Linked DNA regions of Homo sapiens: region 2 is linked to region 1. The links are contacts of gene promoters, found by promoter capture Hi-C in blood cells and fetal thymus (Javierre and others, 2016). All regions are on one chromosome and are shown on one strand. Each heading gives the region's core, a stretch centred on a gene start or on the middle of the fragment in contact. The rest is flanking DNA. Distances are from core to core; before and after follow the strand shown. Region 1 holds the start of RAD54L (RAD54 like). Region 2 overlaps EIF2B3 (eukaryotic translation initiation factor 2B subunit gamma).

Region 1 (4,832 bases), core at 95-2,594:
GGCTAATTTTTTTGTAGATATGGGGTTTCTCCGTGTTGCCCAGGCTGATCTGGAAGTCCTGGGCTCAAGCAATCCTCCTGCCTCGGCCTCCCAAAGTGCTGGAATTACAGGTGTGAGCCACCATGCCTGACCTCAGAATTCTTGATAACCCTGTGAGGATGGCTTAAGCTATACTCAGGTGTGTGACCTTGTACAAGTTACTAGCCTATCTAGGCCTGTTTCCTCACTTACAAAATGGGGACAAAAATAAACCTACCTCATAGTCATGAGCATTACATGAACTGTTATATCTTAGAAGCTCAGAAATGCCTGGTGGTAAATGCTATAAATACACCCTTATCATTATTAGTGAGTACCTAGGTTGTGCATGCCACTGTTGGGTGCTTTACGCACATTAATTTACTTGTCAGAATAGCCATGGGGGGGAGGTACTATTATAATGCCACTTTAGATATGAAGAAACTGACGTTTTGAGAGATTGGATGATTAAATCTCTGACTCCAAACACAACGCTTCCTCCAACGCGGTTTGGCCTTGGAGAGGAAGGCAGCTTCTTTCAAGACACCCCTGAGCGAGAAAGTCGCGTCATCCGGGGGCTCCCATTGCCCGAGCCCGCCACGTGGCAGTCTGGGCCGAATGCCTCTCCCCACTTTCTGGGTGGGCGAGGCCTGACTCCAACCCCGGCCCTCCGCTCTAGACCTGGTACCACTGTAGATTCAATCCAAACTCCCAGAAATGTGCCGCCTTTCATAATCCCCAGCTGTCCACTACAGGTGGTAACTCCCCTGCTGCTCAATGTGGCGTAAATCTTCCCTTCCATAGCTGCGGGACCACAGCTCACCGACCTGGGACAAACACCCGAGACGGGCCGAATTCCAGCTCGCAGGTAGTAATTCCGCCCCTCCCCTCCCCGCTCCGTCGCGTCCAGTCCAGCTCTTCTAGCCCTGCCCCGCTCCTCTAGCCCAACCGCTCCCCACTGTTGGCCCCGCCCCTCCCCGCCCCGTCCAGCTCTTCTCGCCCCGCCCCGCTCTTCTCGCCCAACTGCTCCTCGCTGTTGGCCCCGCCCCTCCCCCGCCACCCCCGCCCCCGCCCCGCCCCTCTCTTCTCGCCCAACCGCCCACCTCTGTTGGCCCCGCCCTCCCATCTAAGTCACGCCTCCTAGTAGGTCAATTTAGCTTCTCCAGCTCCAGAGCCCAGACTCCTCATTGGGCGCAGCACTATTCCCGCCTCTTCCTTGGGTCGCGAGCGCCGAACTCATCGAACGCAGCCAATGGGTGATACGACGGCAGCGCGGCGGGAGGTTCGATTGACCCGGTCTTGGCGGGTCGGTGAGTCTTGGCGGCTGTTAACGCGCGCTTTGGGAACAGGAAGGTTGAGAGAGAGGTGCTGGGGTCTGCGTCTATCTCTGTCGCTCTTTTCAGCCCCTCCTGGTATTCCCCTCCTAACCTGGGTTTTTTACACGCCCGCGTGGCTTCCTGCTCGACCTCCCTGAGTCTGATCCTGGTTTCCACCTCCAGCCCTGGGAAATTTCCTTTCTCCAGACTCGCCCTCCCCACCCGGGCCTCGGACTTTCACCCCAGCTTCTCTCTCCTGGCCAGTGATTACCCACCCCCAATCCCACCCCGCCCCGCCGCGCAACTACCTCCTCCCTTCACCCGGACTGGGACCATCATCCCCACTCCACTCCGCCCAGTCTGGGACTCCACCTGCCTCCTCCCCAATCCCACACTAATCTCTGCTTGGTCTCTTCCTCTTTGGCCTAATCTCTCGTCTCGGCTTATTGGGGACGGCCACTCTCACAGTTTGGTTCCAAACACCAGTTCCTGGATGGATTCCCGCCATCCATGCCCCCTCTTTAATTAGCCGGTCCTCTCAATAATGTAGCAGCCCCCTCTACAGATTAGACCCTGGTCCTACACTCTTAGCCGCTGCCTGCTTTTGACCTTTGGCTCATGGGTACTTGACGTTTTAAACTCCTAGGCCCAGGATGGTAAGTGTGGGCCTAGGGGAGACTGGGAATAGCCCTGGGTCAGGGTCTAGTAGGCCTAGGCTGCAGGATCCTTGCAGGCACTGTTTCTGTTCTCCCTTTACAGAGGAGGAGCTTGGCTCCCAGCCAGCTGGCCAAGAGAAAACCTGAAGGCAGGTCCTGTGATGATGAAGACTGGCAACCTGGCCTAGTGGTGAGCACTCAAGGGGACAGGGAAGGTGGGTAGAGCTGTTTGGACAGAAAAGAAGCCAGGATTTGGTTTCTAGGGTTACATAGCCAATTCCAGATGCCTCTTTTGTATGTTCAATAAACTTTTAGTGAGTACTTACTATGTGCCAGGCATTGAACAAGATTAGTAAAATCTTTATCCTCAGGGTAGTCACTAGAAGCTAATATAGCCTCAGTTTTCCTGGTGGGAAAAGATAAGCAAAAGAGCCAGTTGGATTGGACCTTTTGACTCTGCTTGGAAAAAAGGGCTACACAACAGCAATTAGCAGCTGGCTCTTTTGCTCTTTGTCCCCTGCCCAGTGTCACAGAACAGTAGAGTGTTCTGGGCCTACCTTGGAGTCCTGGGCTCACTTGGGCCTAGATCTGACAGGTTGTGTCCTTCCAGTCCTTGCTCATACTCAAGTACAGTATATTCTACTTTAGGTTGGGCCCTGGGCTCTGCTTCCTGTTTTGGAGGCTTGTTGGGGCTGGCTGTGGGCAGGACCTATGTAAACCAAAATAAATAGGACAGTGCAGCATGGACTTCAGAGAATAAGAGCAGTTCAAGAAGTGGGGGCTTGGCCACTGGAACTTTGAAGGAAGGGATCAGCTACGCAAGGACTAGAAGGCACTTTTTGGCAGGAGCAGTGTGTGAATAAGGTGTGGGGTAGGGGTGCTGGTGTTTGTTTCAGGTGTGTCTTACAGGATCACTGAGGCTTCAAATATCCTGGCAAGCTGGTACAAGTGTGTTCTTGCCTAATGGCTTGATGGGGCTTGCTCAATAGTTGTACCGTGGTGTGCAAGGGGCTTCTCTACCTGTGAAGGAGGCACATTGGCTGACCCTTGCCATGTACATGGGTCTCAGACTTGAACTTGGGGCAGCATTCTCTGCATCTGGGTCTGCTGTCAGTTGCTGGTTGCTTCTGAAGATGCTTTTAGTGCCAGTGTCCTCACAGCCATGGGTGGCCTGAGTGGGGAGTGGCCTCAGTGGCCTGGGAGTTGAAGGCAGCTGTATTCTTGCCTCTTGGAAACTCAGCGAAATGTTTGGTTGCTCCATCATTCCATGGAGCTTTTGGAGTGAAGCTTTGGGCCACCAGGACTCCATGCTGTTGGTAGACTTGCTCTTCAGAGGCCCATTTTATTTACCTCTTCCATTGCCCCGCTCAGTTTAGGCAGGTTATTTAATCTCATTAAGCTCTAGTTTTCTCACCTCTTAAATAAGGATAATAACTCTACATAATAGAGTTGCTATGAAGATGATACACTATGACATGTGTGAAGAATTTAGCACAGTGCCTGGCACTTAATAAGCACTTCAAGTGTTAGTTGCCATTATGGTGATTTCTGTGGTCTTCTAGACTTCACCTTTCCCAATTCTCTCTCCTAGACTCCTAGGAAACGGAAATCCAGCAGTGAGACCCAGATCCAGGAGTGTTTCCTGTCTCCTTTTCGGAAACCTTTGAGTCAGCTAACCAATCAACCACCTTGTCTGGACAGCAGTCAGCATGTAAGCCAGAACTGCAACCTGCATGTGTATGTCTGTGCCCAGTCACTCAGCCTAGGTAGACTCCTGTCCCTGTACACTCCCTCAGTGCTTTCTAGAGTGGCCAGAAGACACACATCTGTAGGGGCTTTGGACCTGCCCACAGCTGCTGGGGCCTGCTTAGAGAGGTGTGCCTGACTTGTGCCTGGTTTATAGTAGCTACATGGGCACCAGATATCAGATGGTTCAGATTCCTGAGGAAAGGAGGGTAAAGGAACTAGGATCCTCATGTCAGCTCAGACTCTGACTCTGTATATGACTTTAAGGTGTACCAGAGTCATGTATTTCCTCTAGTAAAGTCAAACTTAATCACCACCATGGCAGGTTCTGTGCATTGCCTCATGTAATTCTCACGTTTTAAGATGAGAAAACAGTCTCAGAAGGGTTAAGTAATTTGCTCAGAGTGGGTGGAGCAGATCTGTCTATCTCCAAAGCTTTTCCACTAAGCTTTATGAGGAATGTTTTGAAGGAAAAGTAGGAATACATAATGGAGATTAGTCATTTGTGCATTCAGCAAACATTTAAAAACGGTTTTGTGGCCGGGTCGGGTGGTTCACGCCTGTAATCACAGCACTTTGGAAGGCTGAGATGGGTGGATCAACTGAGGTTAGGAGTTTGAGACCAGCCTGGCCAACATGGTGAAACCCCGTCTCTACTAAAAATACAAAAATTAACTGGGCATGGTGTCATACCCCTGTAGTCCCAGCTACTCAAGTGAGGCATGAGAATCACTTGAACCCGGGAGGCCGAGGTTGCAGTGAGTCAAGATCACGCCACTGCACTCCAGCCTGGGCAAGAGTGAGACTCGGTCTCAAAAAAAAAAAACAAAAAACAAAAAACAAAACAAAACAACTAAATGAAAACAGTTTTGGGCCAGGCGCAGTGGCTCACGCCTGTAATCCCAACACTTTGGGAGGCCGAGGTGGATGGATCACCTGAGGTCAGGAGTTCAAGACCAGCCTGGCCAACATGGTGAAATCCCGTCTCTATTAAAAATACAGAGAAAATTAGCCAGGCATGGTGGTGCATGCCTGTAATCCCAGCTACTTGGGAGGCTGAGGCAGGAGAATCACTTGAACCCGGGAGGCAGCGGTT
Region 2 (4,814 bases), core at 1,011-3,510, 1.3 Mb before region 1:
AGCAATCACAGTAAGAAAAGCTTAGCTGCAGATAAACATTATGTCTACCAATATGTATTCTCAGTTCTATCCTTGGTAAAAGTGGGAGGATAGGAATGCAGGGGCTTTGCCCTTGAGTTATTCACAATTAAGTGGAGAAGACAAATTCAGTAAATCACAATATATGTCATTAGTGCCACAGCAGAAAAATATCCAAGATACAGTGGGCATACAATAAAAGGAACACCTAGTTTTCATTGAAAACACAGAGAAGTTTTTATAGAAAGTGATGCTTGAGCTGACTCTGAAGAAGTAAGAGTTTACCAAGTGGACTTCTGATGTGTGAATTTTTATTCTTTGAAAATATTAGGCTGGGTGAGGTGGCTCACATCTGTAATCCCAGCACTTTGGGAGGCTGAGGTGTGTGGATCACATGAGCTCAGGAGTTCGAGACCAGCCTGGGCAACATGGCGAGACCCCATCTCTACCAAAAATACAAAAAATTAGCCAGGGGTGGTGGCTTGTGCCTATGGTTCCAGCTACTTGGGAAGCTGAAGTGGGAGGATCATTTGAGCCTGGGAGGCAGGTGTTGCAGTGAGCCGAGATTGAGATTGGACCACTGCACTCCAACCTGTGTGACAGAGTGAGATCCTGTCTCAAAAAAAAAAAAAAAAAAAGAGAGAAAAAAGAAAATATTAAAAGATGCCTGACTAGAATTAACAGCAGAAACACAAGCATGTTAGGCTTCTGAAAAGTATGAAATGACTTAAGACTCCTCCAATAATTCAGCCATCGGCTCATCTTATTCCTCCAATTTTTAAAGATATCACTATAAACACAAACGTAGGCTTGTATCTGAACCTAGATTTACAGAACACAATTATAAAAACAAACCAAACTGTTAATTCCTTTTTTCAAACTCAAGGTAATAAACAAACCTATTTGACTTTGAAAAGAATCTCTTTACAGAAACTACCACAGAACAGAGGCACAGTAGAAGGTCATAAATCTTTATTTATGTATTTATTTTTGGAGATGGAATTTCACTCTTGTTGCCAGGCTGGAGTGCAATGCCGTGATCTCGGCTCACTGCAACCTCCACCTCCCAAGTTCAAGCGATTCTCCTGCCTCAGCCTCCCGAGTAGCTGGGATCACAGGCATGGGCCACCATGCCTGGCTAATTTTGTATTTTTAGTAGAGATGGGGTTTCACCATGTTGGCCAGGCTGGTCCCAAACTCCTGACCTCAGGTGATCCACCGGAGTCGGCCTCCCAAAGTGCTGGGATTACAGGTGTGAGCCACGTGCCCATCCTATTTATTTATTGTTTATTTAGAGACAGAGTCTTGCTCCATTGCCCAGTCTGGAAGTGCAGTGGTAAGATCATGGCTCACTGCAGCCTCAACCTCCTGCACTAAAGCAATCCTCCTGCCCCAACCTCTGGAGCAGCTGGGACTACAGGTGGGTACCACCATGCCTGGCTTTTTTTTTTTTTTTGAGACGGAGTTTCTCTCTTGTTGCCCAGGCTGAAGTGCAGTGGCACGATCTCAGCTCACCACAACCTCTGCCTCCCAGGTTCAAGTGATTCTCCTGCCTCAGCCTCCCAAAGAGCTGGGATTATAGGCATGCACCACCACGCCCAGCTGCCCAGCTAATTTTGTATTTTTAGTAGAGACAGGGTTTCTCCACATTGGTCAGGCTGGTCTCGAACTCCCAACCTCAGGTGATCTGCCCACCTTGGCCTCCCAAAGTGCTGGGATTACAGGTATGAGCCACTGCACCTGGCCGCCTGGCTAATTCTTTTAATTAATTTTTTATAGAGATGGGGTTTCACTATGCTGCCCAGGCTGGTCTCAAACTCCTGGCCTCAGGCCTCCTGCCTGGGCCTCCCAAAGTGCTGAGATTAGAGGCATGAGCCACTGCACCTGACCGATCTTTACTGATTTAAACTGAAAGTACTTTCTCTTACAATGATGTAATTTTAAGAACAAATGTGTTAAAATGTAACGTTCAGAAGAAACAATCTATTCAACATCAAATTGCCAAATAATGTTGCAACTTTACTATAATTATTATTACTCCTGGGCCCAGCACATCAACATCTAAAGTGCAGCACTTAACACCTACTATACCCAAGGCACAAAGTGAAGGCTCCTGCATAACATTCACAATGTAAAGATATGGTCATGTAGATTCTAGCAAGCATTGCCTCAAAGTGTAATTTAATTTCATTTTGGTATTATATAACATCCACCACATCAAATGTTATTATGAAAAGAGCACTGGACCCTTAAGAGTCAAAAGATGAGCTGGACGTGGTGGCTCACGCCTGTAATCCCAGCACTTTGGGAGGCCCAGGCGGGCGGATCACCTGAGGTCAGGAGTTCAAGAGCAGCCTGGCCAACTTGGTGAAACTCTGTCTCTACTAAAAAAAAATTTTTTTTTTTGAAACAGAGTTCTTGTTCCCCAGGTTGAGTGCAATGGCATGATCTTGGCTCACTGCAACCTCTGCCTCCCAGGTTCAAGCGATTCTCCTGCCTCAGCCTCCCAAGTTGCTGGGATTACAGGCATCCGCCACCATACTTGGCTAATTCTTTGGATTTTTAGTAGAGACAGGGTTTCACCATGTTGGCCAGGCTGGTCTTGAACTCCTAACCTTAGGTGATCCACCTGCCTTGGCCTCCTAAAGTGCTGGGATTTCAGGCATGAGCCACTGCGCCCGGCCTCTACCAAAAACATTTTTAAAAGTAGCCAGGCATGGTGTCAGGCACCCGTAATCCCAGCTACTCAGGTGGCTGAGGCAGGAGAATCACAGGAACCCGGGAGGCAGCAGCTGCAGTGAGCTGAGAGCACACCACTCGCACTTCAGCCTGGGCGACAGAGTGAGACTCCGTCTCAAAAAAAATAAAATAAAATAAAAAAGAGCCAAAAGAGCGCCAGGCACAGTGGCTCATGCTCCCAGCACTTTGGGAGGCCAAGATGAGAGGATCACTTGAGCCTAGGAATTCTAGAACAGCCTGGGCAACATGGTGAGACCCCATCTCTATAAAAAATTAGCCAGGTATGGTGGCGCATGCCTGTAGTCCCAGATACTCGGGAGGCTGAGGTGGGAGAATCACCTGAGCCTGGGAGGTTAAGGCTGCACACCACTGCACTCCAGCCTGGGCAACAGAGTGAGACCCTGTCCCAAAAAAAAAAAGTCAAAAGATGAGTTTGAGTCATGATTCTGACACTCATAGGTGTGATCAGGGGCCTGACATTTAAAACTCTCAGTGTCCTCAGCTTCTAGAAGGAAGCCTGGTGGTTAGGTTCACAGACCATAGAGCTAGAATGCCTAGGTTTGAATTCTAGCTCTACTATTTATTATTAGCTGTGTGAACTAGGGCAAACTACGTAAATTTTCTATGCCTCAATTTTTGCATTTTATGATGGGGATAATTATAGTTTCACTTCACAGAGTTGTTGTTAAGATTAAATTTGTTATTCTACGTAAAGCAGACAAAATAATGTCCATCTTTTTTTTTTTTTTTTTTTTGAGACGGAGTCTCGCTCTGTCGCCCAGGCCGGACTGCGGACTGCAGTGGCGCAATCTCGGCTCACTGCAAGCTCCGCTTCCCGGGTTCACGCCATTCTCCTGCCTCAGCCTCCCGAGTAGCTGGGACTACAGGCACCCGCCACCGCGCCCGGCTAATTTTTTGTATTTTTAGTAGAGACGGGGTTTCACCTTGTTAGCCAGGATGGTCTCGATCTCCTGACCTCATGATCCACCCGCCTCGGCCTCCCAAAGTGCTGGGATTACAGGCGTGAGCCACCGCGCCCGGCCAATAATGTCCATCTTATGAGAAGCACTATATTTGTATTTGCTTTACTAGACAGAGACTAGATTATGGAAAACCTTCGTACTAATTGAGCCATGCTGCTTCATAATTCTGGTCTCTGCACTGCTACTGTTGCTTCCTAGTCTGCCTTTCTCTTGTGTCTAGTAATCACCTATTAAACTTTGAAGACAGCTCAAGAATCCTCTTGCCTACAAAGCCATTCCTAACCGTTCCCACCCCTCCAGAAGTGACTCCTTTTCCCGAAGTGCTTCCATTCTGCCATGTGCAGATTCTCTTAGCCTTTACGGGTTTCATTGCACGTATGTGTTTAAATGTCTACTTAAGTGTAACATTAATGTCTCTTAAATGTCTACATAAGAGTGTAAGAGTGACTTTCTTGGACTGTGTGTGCATCATCACTGTATTCCCAGTCAGATGCCAGAAATCAAAGTGGAATGAGGACCTGTGAACTTCACAACTGTATAAGAGTCAAACTCAAACATGTGCATAAGGGCATTAGAACCCAGGTCACTAGGAACTGAGGTTCCAGCTCTCAAGGAGGCCCTGGGTGAAGAAAGGCAACCTAGGAAGCATGAATAGTAATCATGAACATAACTAATCATGCTACCAGGCAGACTGTCAAATGCTCATGTCACTGCCACGACTATGGCTGACGGGAATCATGGCAACGAGTCTCGCTGCCTCCCAAGCTTTGGAGAGGGTGTTCACCGCATCTCAGACTTGCCTGCATCATAGCACTCATGCCTTTTCCAGTTGTAAATAGATAAGAAAACTGTATCAGAATTGGTCTGTCATTCCACGTGTGCTGCCTGAAGGCAGAGACCTCACTGCTCCTCCCTATATTTCACTGCCCTGCATCCAAACAACTAAAGGCAGGCTGAACAAATGAATGAAGGGCTGAGGCTGAAAGAGTGCAGGCACAGTGCTAAAGGCGTCTGGTACCGGTCTGGTGCTCGCTCACTCGCTGTGACTTTAAGCAGAACCCTCCCCGAAACTTC

What was found. The method cuts DNA at HindIII sites, captures the fragments that hold promoters and counts their contacts. A CHiCAGO score of 5 or more calls a contact.
Region 2: a contact is called between a fragment that was not itself captured here and the fragment with the promoter of RAD54L in region 1, in 1 of 17 cell types (monocytes). The highest score is 5.3, in monocytes.

Annotation. Positions count from the first base shown.
Region 1 is chr1:46,246,419-46,251,250 of GRCh38, forward strand. RAD54L (RAD54 like) reads left to right here and starts at 1,345. Exons shown (of 18, transcript NM_003579.4): 1 at 1,345-1,990; 2 at 2,094-2,180; 3 at 3,582-3,701. The coding sequence starts at 1,988. RefSeq lists a silencer at 906-1,165. The HindIII fragment of the contact is 28,355 bases long and covers 1-3,275 here.
Region 2 is chr1:44,981,306-44,986,119 of GRCh38, forward strand. The region is part of intron 1 of EIF2B3 (eukaryotic translation initiation factor 2B subunit gamma); the gene reads right to left. Among named protein-coding and RNA genes, the nearest start is that of EIF2B3, 2.9 kb to the right of the region's middle. The HindIII fragment of the contact is 4,485 bases long and covers 19-4,503 here.